3 separate regions of the Homo sapiens genome follow, and regions 1 and 3 are each linked to region 2. The links are contacts of gene promoters, found by promoter capture Hi-C in blood cells and fetal thymus (Javierre and others, 2016). All regions are on one chromosome and are shown on one strand. The core of a region is centred on a gene start or on the middle of the fragment in contact, and the rest is flanking DNA. Distances in the headings are between cores, read along the strand shown.

Region 1 (2,700 bases), core at 123-2,622, 100 kb before region 2:
AGTTTCTCATTTATGTTACATGTCCATCCTAGGTTGGTGGATATTCTGTTCCATGTTGTTCTCTCTCATCTTGACTGGTCACTGTGACAGGGAAAATGGAATATAATGAATTATGCAACAGCTCTTAAGACTTAAAAGCTTCCACCTAGAAGTGACAAAAACCACTTATATTTTGTTTGCCGAAACAGTCACATGACCATGTCAGTTCCCAAGGAAACATAATCCTACCAGTATGGAGAAGGAGAACCAAAAATATTGACAAATGCAAACGATGACTACAATCATAGATAAGGATATTGTATTATACAAGATGCTTTCAGTTGCAAGCAATCTGACTCAAGAGAAACAAAAAACATAGTAGTTTATTTAACTGGTAAATTCAACAGGGATTCAGAAATGCATTGATGTTATTAGGTCTTTATTTTCCACTCTTTCTCTTTGACTTTGCTTTCTTCTTATTCTTAGGTAGACTGTCTCTGTGTGGTGGTAAGATGACCACCTACCACACTAAGCATATATCATCCTTTTAATCAGAGTCCAGAAAAAAATTAACCCTTTTTACCTCCAGAGAGACCTATATCCATCTCTCAAAATGACAGTGGCCCTGCTTGGGTCATGTGCCACCATAATATCCAGGGAAGAGGAGTGCTTTGATTGACCAGCCTGACATGGGTCTATGGACATATGACCATCCAGTGGTAGAAAAGCAAGGCCGAGTGATTCTCAGCCCTACCAGAATCAGATGGAGTAAAGTAGACACAGTTCCCAAAAGGAAAAGATGAAGACTATACCAAAAGGTAGCAGCTACCTACCAAGAGAGCTCGACTTTTTCATTTCCTTCATCATTCCCCTCAACTCTGATGACATGTATGAGACTAAATTCCATAAATATAAACCTATGTAGTCTTGGTGTCATACTACAAATTGTTGCTGATGTTAAGCCAGGTCAATTGTAAAAATACACACTAGGGAACACATATGGGTAAATGCTGGGACAAAACTTCTTTAACTTATTTTGCATAAGGCACTTCTGAGTACAAATCCAAGCAAGTTACAAGGAAATTCCCTCTTGCAGAATGAACTGCTAACAAATTATTCTTGAGATGCTTATATAAATGATAAAATGGCAACATGATTACCAGGCTTCTTACTAGTAAAAGGCTCAAAGAAGATAAATGACTTCCCAGTCACAGACAGCATATAGTAGTGCTAGGATTTAAATCCCAGTTTGATTGTTTCCTTGGCAGGGGCAGAGGGTGAAATGGTAACAGGCATCAGATTACTAACTTCAGAAGGACAGCAATTTTTGTTTTTGTATCTCAAGCAACTAGAACAGTGCTTGGAACATACTAAGTTAGTGATAAAGAAGCCCAAGAATTAAGCTCCTTTTCCTATTTTAAGTAATAGTCAACAGCAATAAAAATAAATTTGGTTTTCTCACTTTGTCATTCTTCTAAAACTTGGCTAAACACATTTCCACAGGAATAAAATGCTTGGTTTCCAGGAAGTTCCAGGTAATATGCATTATGACTTGGCATATCCCTCAGTATAGCTTTTTGAAGCTGGAAAGGACAAACACAAAACAATGAAGAAATAATTTAGGGAAAAAATAAATAGAATGAATGAGTACAGAAAAAAAAAAAACCCCAGCATAGCTACAATATCTGTAATGTGAATGTTTTTCTAAATCAATATAAGCCTTAGGTTTTAGTAGTAATGCTATCTAATACATTTCTTAACCATTTTAAAGAGGATAATTACATATGATAGAACCTCTGCTTACCTTCCTGCCATAGCTGGGTTAAGCTGTATTTCTAGCCAATTCCTAACACTCTCCTAATTACTAGAACAATTTAGCTGATGCTTTTGGTTCTTCACTTAGAGAACTAAGTAACAGAAAAGGCAGCCATGGAGGTAGAGCCATCATGTTAGACTAGATAAAGGATAAGATACAAAACTCACCTGTATTTACAAAAACAGAATTATTGATCATCTGTGAACCCTGCCATCACAGGAAGTCTTTAACAAATTCAGTAAGTGATCTTGATTGCAATGAACTCTCATTGACTACACAAGAAACTTTTAATTTTTCCTTTCGTAGCACTTGGCAGCAAAACCCCCTTAAGAATCCTGCTCTTTTATCTTCTTAAGCTACACAACAAATTTAAATACAAAGTAAAGACTTTCTCAGCAGGGTCTGAATCTACTGTGAACTTTTAGAATAGATTCCCAACCACTCAAAACTCCCTAGGACTCCTACAGAAAGATGGCATGCTTTAACCCCTCTTCCTAGTTCCACAAAAATGGATCAAAAGCAGAAATGTGTGTTTTAGAGAAAAGGCTAAAGACAGTGAGAATCCCTGGAAGCAAGTGATTTGCCAAACTTTAAAGCAGAAGAGAATACACATTTTCTGGGTACCAATTCCTTAGAAAATATTAAATCAGAAGATCCCAGTTTCCAGGCCTAGAATTACATATTGCTGAATGAAATAAATCAATGGTATTTAAATCCTTTGTGAAGCTAGAACAATCTATTTTGGTAAAGCAGTTTTTGGGGAGACATTATTAACATTTCAAATACTATCAACAATTAACCTTGATCAACCTGAAGCTTTGTTCAGCAGTATAATTACAGACGTTACCTAGTATTGTGGGAAACAAAGACACACAGACATTTCCAAGCAACTAACTACATTCTGT
Region 2 (2,998 bases), core at 377-2,876:
ATATAACCTTTGAAATAAAATCACTTATTAAGATATAGTTGTCAATTTCATCACACAAAATGCAATTAAAGCTCAGAAAAGAAGAAACCACAACCATACACAACAAAACTTTGAAATTCAGGAAATTATACTGAAATGACAAGCCAGCAAATTTCAGGATATCAAAGCTCACACCTCAGTTAACATACAAATATTAAGGGTAACCTGATGATTTTTTTACAGTGGAAAGTGGTACAGTGTTTATTAAATACCTTTTTTTGCAACCTGATACTACCAAATCCACCAACACCGTTTTTAAAATTACAGTTCTGTAGGAAGTTCAAGGTGGTTTTCCCAGTTGCTCGCATTTTCACTCAGTTTATTTCTCTCTAAAACATCTGGATGTTGGTTTTTTAAAGCCCATTTGCCCCACTGGTGCAATATATTGTTTTTAAAAATAAATATTTTCAAAAATGGAGCCTAAGAGAATGGAGTGTAAACGAATGGGGGTGGGGCGAGGAGAGAAGGCAAAGACGGGCCCAGCGGGGAAAGGCTGGTTACTGGGTATTTTCCTTCTGAGAGCATGCTTTATTGGCATAGGCATCTGAGGTAACGAGCCATACAAACACGACCTTAGAACAAGAATGATCACGAGCAATGAGTGTAAGGCATAAATATCTGTAAGACGGAAATAATTTGACACTGATCACTAAGCAGCACCAGATGCTTCGGGACCTCATAAAGGAAAGGTAAGAGGTCCAGGAAACAGAGATCATTGCTACCCTCTGGGGTGGGGGGCAGGCGGGAGAAACCAAGGAATAACTACGGTTGGGCAGTTCAAAGCCTGAACAGTACAGAGCAAAAGAAAGCCAGCAAGTGACTAGGGGAAGGCACACACCCTGGCGAGTACGAAGAAGGGTGTGCAGTGTGCAAATACTGAACAGGTCTATGAAATGGTGTGGGTAAGAGATGTGGGTGTGGGTAAGGGGCAACGCAGGAGGCTCACGGTCCCCTCCCTGCAGCAGAGCAACAGAGGGTAAAAGAAGGGGGAGGGTGAAAAGCAAGAATGACTCATTACCAAAAGGAAGTGCTCAAGCCATAGGGAGGCATGCCACAGGGGATTTCAGGGCGAGGATTGTGAGGAGCTAGGTGCTCAGGGTGATGGGGGCAAAAATCAACGTCTTGTAGTTCCTGCTGCTAGTCTTTAACATGGGGGTGTGGGGGGGTTCGCGGCAGCCGAGTGCCAAGGCCTGGGAAGCGGCGCGGCGCGTGCGCAGTGGCGTTCGGCGGGACCCGCTGAGGCAAAGCGGAGCCGCAGTGACAGAAGCAAGCGGAGCGGCCGCCAGGAAGGACTCACCGAGGCGCAGGGGCTGGAGGTGGTGCTGGGGGTAGGTGACCGCTGGACCGTGACCAAAGCCATCTAGGCGCTGCTGGGTTGTTCCGGGCAGGGCATTCTTGTCCTGAGTGTGGGGGACGGGAGGGTGACGGAGCCGGGATGGGGAAAGGGGTGCGGGGTGGGGGTGAAGGGAACGGGGAGGAGGAGGAGGCCGCGGGAACGGCCGCAGACTCCGCACCCACCACCAGACTGTCGCCGACTGACGCTCCGAACGGGCGGCGGGCGGGCGGTTCCGCAGCTGCGGGGCACAATGAGCGCTCCCAGTGCGCAGGCGCCACCTGTCAGCTACCGCCTCTCCCCTCGGCGCGCGCCGCCGCCTGGTCGTAACCCTTGAGTTGCCGGAAGCTGGCCGAGTGCGTGCGCCTCGGGCCGCCGCACCCTCCTGGGTTTCCTCCTTCGTGCTGGAATCGCGCGGTTTGCCAGCACTGGGTGCTGTGGAGTGGGGTGGGGGAAGGGGCCGAAGGGAGCCAGCCCGGTGAGGGGTCCCAGGGCGGGGGGCCGCTGGAGTCTTCACTCCTGAGAGACAACCATTTTATGAGGTGGGGCGGCGCACAGCTTAACCAACCTTAAAAAAAAGCAGCTGAGATGAAAATCCTGAAGCAAACACGTTTTCTATTGGGAAAGGGCTCCGCGGAGTTTCAAACCCTCTCACTGGGCGCAGACAGAACTGGGCTAGACCAGTTTACTCCCTTCACCCCGGCTCTCGGGGGCTTTTTCTTAACTTTTCCCCCCCTTCCGTCTATGTTTTATGATGAGACTTCTGGAAAGAAAACCATTTTCCGTTTGATACCCTGGAAAGGTTTGTGGTACCCTCATGCTTCCTCTATTGCCTGTCTAAAGACTTATTCATTATTCCTGAGGAGAAGAGAAGCTGAGCGCGCCTGGGAGTCCGAGGAAGCCGGTTGTGAGGGTCCAGCCTGCTATTGACCTCTCACTTGCCTCCTGCTGTGAAGACAGTCTTTTAATTAAACAGGATTTGCTCGTTAAGCTTTCTTCTCCTTCGTCTCTAAATGTCATTCTTTCATAGACCTATGTAAAAATGTAGATTAAAAGATATTTTAAGGGAATGGTTTTCTCAGGGGTAAATTGTCTGCAGAACATAAGCAAAGAATGTAATGGAAAATCAAGATTAAAAAGGAAAAAAATTGCACAATGCAAATATCACTGATTATTTACACAAAGAAAGAGAGTTGACAAGGCTATTTCTCAGCTTGAGTGGATGAGCTGGTAAATACCACCGTACATATCAAAGCTGTAGAAAACACACACACTTGGGAGTTTGCAGTTATTAAAACCCACCCCCTCCTGTTTGTCACTCAAACACTCTTGGATCTCATTGCTTCTTTTAAACTGACAGGGCTGTCATGAGCTCTTTCTGGCTGCTGTACGGTTAAACGCCACAAGAGTCCTCTGTGCTGAGCCTTTGTTCTCTCCCTGGGGCCCTGTGGTTGAAATAATTAGCAGGGAGGTTCCATCAAGAATCAGACACTGAGGGTCCCTGTACTGTACAGTCCTATGTAGAGTGTAGTGCAGAGAAGCCAGCTGGTAGGCTTTTGCCCCCTGGTGGTGATCAGGAGTGCCTGTGAGACAAAATTAAACAAAGATGTATGGTTCACAGATTAA
Region 3 (2,834 bases), core at 87-2,586, 120 kb before region 2:
ATTATAAGCTTGAAGGCAGGAACTGTCTCTTGATCACTGCTGTATACTCAGCACCTAGCAATGCTGAATAAAAATTTTGAATAAATGACTAATGTAAAAGAAAGAACAAGTATTGTAGGACAGATTCTCCAACCAAGGTGCCCCATTTTCTATAATGTAGATTCAGTCTGCAAACACCCTGATTTAAAATACAAAAAGATAGTAATTCCTCAAACAAGAATATTCTTAGCTATAGCCATCCCACATTTTCACATACGCAACCATTTTAGAGACTGCACAACAGAATTCTCATAGAAACAAAGATGAATGGGTCAATGTTGTCAATAATAATCATAAATTAGGGAACTAATCATCATCATCTGCTTTTAGAAGTGGGTTCTATTTATTTTATTTTAGATAGTCATATCTAGCAATCTTTATAGCTTCTATTTTTTAACTTGCATATTTAAATAAGTTTCCCAGAAAATAGTTCATTAATTCATCTACAATTTATTGTGGTATATGGTTGAAGATAGAGCTATCTAACTTAATTTTCTCCCCAAATAGTTAATTGTTATTACAGCACTACCTGGCTATTTATCCATTTTCCCCAACTGACTTGAAATTCTACCTTAATCATACACTAAATATTTTCATGTACTAAGGTCTATTTCTGGGCCTTCTAGGCAACATCTTTCTTGTACACCATGCTATTATTAGCTTATAATTGTTTTCAATATGTGACTGTGAGAATCTCATCTTTTAATTTTGAGTGCACAATTTCACCCACTTAGTCTTCCAAATGACTTTGTTAGGTTTTCAACACCCTAAAAATCCCTTTAGAACAAGCTTGTCCAACCCATGCCCAGAATGGCTTTGAATGTGGCCCAACACAAATTCGTAAACTTTCTTAAAACATTATGATTTTTTTTTGTAATTTTTTTTCTCAGCTCATCGGCTATCATTAGTGTATTTTATATGTGGCCCAAGAAAATTCTTTTTTTGTTTGTTTTTTGGAGACAGAGTCTCGCTCTGTTGCACAAGGTGGAGTGCGGTGGCACAATCTCGGCTCACTGCAACCTCTGCCTCCTGGGTTCAAGCGATTCTACTGCTTCAGCCTCCCGAGTAGCTGCGACTACAGGTGCGCACCACCACACCTGGCTAATTTTTGTATTTTTAGTAGAGATGGAGTTTTGCCATGTTGGCCAGGCTGGTGTTGAACTCCTGGCCTCAAGTGATCCATCCTCCTTAGCCACCCAAAATGCTGGGATTACAAGTGTGAGCCACTGTACCTGGCCAGGAACTTTTTAATATTACATTTGATTATATTATATATTACGTAATATATAATGGTTATTGCCGGCAATATACAATAGCAAATCATTTCTATATATTTATTTTGATATTAACTGGTTTATTGCAGTTTTAAAAAATAAATTTTTATATATTTTTTCATTTAATAATCACTTTTCAAAGAGTAAAAATGTAAAAAGCTATTCATTGAAGTTACGTAAACAAGTGCTTCCACTCACAAATAAGATAGAAATACTTATAAATGAAATGTGAACCACAAGTTTTTTTTTTTCTTGGAGACAGAGTCTAGCTCTGTTGCCCGGGCTGCAGTGCACTGTTGCGATCATACCTTACTGTTGTCTTGAACCCCTGGGCTCAAGTGATCCTTCCACCTCAGCCTCCCAACTAGCTGGGACTACAGGTGTGCACCACCATGCCCAGCTAAATTTTATTTTTTGTAGAGACAGAGTCTCACTATGTTGTCTAGGCTGGTCTTGAACTCCTAGGCTCAAGTAATTTGCCTACCTCAGCCTCTTGAAATGCTGGGACAGGCATGAACCAAATAATTTAATGCAAGCTTCACCACCTAATTCTCTAAGAATTTGTATAATCTCAAGTATAAAAATATCTAAAGAGTTTGATTTTCTATCGACTATTTTAATTTACATTTAAATATATTTATGATTTTTATATAAAAGAGGAGATTACATATATCCAACATAAGAACTGTTGTCAGGGAGCAAGTGGTAATACTTATCTCTAACCCTCATGAAAAATAAGAAAAAAAGACTCATTCATTAAACTGTGAACCTTTTGAAACAGGGACTGTGTCTTATTTTTATACCCTGATACCTGGCCATAGTATGTGTTCTTTTTTTTTTTTTTTTTAAGTCTTATTGAGAAATAATTCATATACCATACAATTCACCTATTAAAAGTATACAATTCAATGTTTTTAGTATCTTCACACAATTATGTTTTTTAAAATATATATTTCTGCCTTTTTTTTTGAAGATAGGGTCTTATTTTGTTGCCCAGGTTGGGGTGCAGTCACACAATTTTGGCTCACTGCAGCCTCTGCCTCCCAGACTCACGTGATTCTCTCACCTCAGCCTCCTGAGTAGCTGGGACTACAGGCACATGCCACCATGCTTGACTAACTTTTTAATTTTTTGTAGAGATGACAGCTCACTCTATTGCCCAGGTTGGTCTTGAACTCCTGGATTCAAGCGATCCTCCTGCCTTGGTCTCCCAAAGCACTGGGATTACAGGTGTCAGCCACTACGCCCAGCCTATTTATGCATTTTAAAACCATGCCAGCCGGGCGCGATGGCTCATGCCTGTAATCCCAGCACTTTGGGACACCGAAGCGGGTGGATCACGAGGTCAGGAGATCGAGACCATCCTGGCTAACACGGTGAAACCCCGTCTCTACTAAAAATATAAAAATTTAGCTGGGCATGGTGGCGGGCGCCTGTAGTCCCAGCTACTCGGGAGGCTGAGGCAGGAGAATGGCGAGAACCAGGAGACGGAGCTTGCAGTGAGCCGGGATCACACCACTG

Evidence for each region. Contacts are between HindIII fragments. The CHiCAGO score rates a contact against its expected background, and 5 or more counts as called.
Region 1: a fragment that was not itself captured here is called in contact with the fragment with the promoter of SSH2 in region 2 in 11 of 17 cell types (M2 macrophages, naive CD4 T cells, fetal thymus and 8 more); the score reaches 10.1 in M2 macrophages.
Region 3: a fragment that was not itself captured here is called in contact with the fragment with the promoter of SSH2 in region 2 in 16 of 17 cell types (naive CD4 T cells, total CD8 T cells, megakaryocytes and 13 more); the score reaches 18.6 in naive CD4 T cells.

The regions. Positions count from the first base shown.
Region 1 is chr17:29,826,153-29,828,852 of GRCh38, forward strand. The region is part of intron 2 of SSH2 (slingshot protein phosphatase 2); the gene reads right to left. It overlaps LOC124900390 (a long non-coding RNA gene), which reads right to left. Exons shown (of 2, transcript XR_007065694.1): 2 at 1-1,562. Among named protein-coding and RNA genes, the nearest start is that of SSH2, 100 kb to the right of the region's middle. The HindIII fragment of the contact is 2,473 bases long and covers 137-2,609 here.
Region 2 is chr17:29,928,602-29,931,599 of GRCh38, forward strand. SSH2 (slingshot protein phosphatase 2) reads right to left here and starts at 1,627. Exons shown (of 16, transcript NM_001282129.2): 1 at 1,337-1,627. The coding sequence starts at 1,399. It also overlaps a transcript of EFCAB5 not described here. RefSeq lists silencers at 827-876, 1,387-1,666, 1,817-1,906, 2,640-2,809. The HindIII fragment of the contact is 8,919 bases long and covers 1-2,361 here.
Region 3 is chr17:29,810,019-29,812,852 of GRCh38, forward strand. All of the region lies in intron 2 of SSH2 (slingshot protein phosphatase 2), which reads right to left. Among named protein-coding and RNA genes, the nearest start is that of SSH2, 120 kb to the right of the region's middle. RefSeq lists an enhancer at 27-86. The HindIII fragment of the contact is 1,021 bases long and covers 827-1,847 here.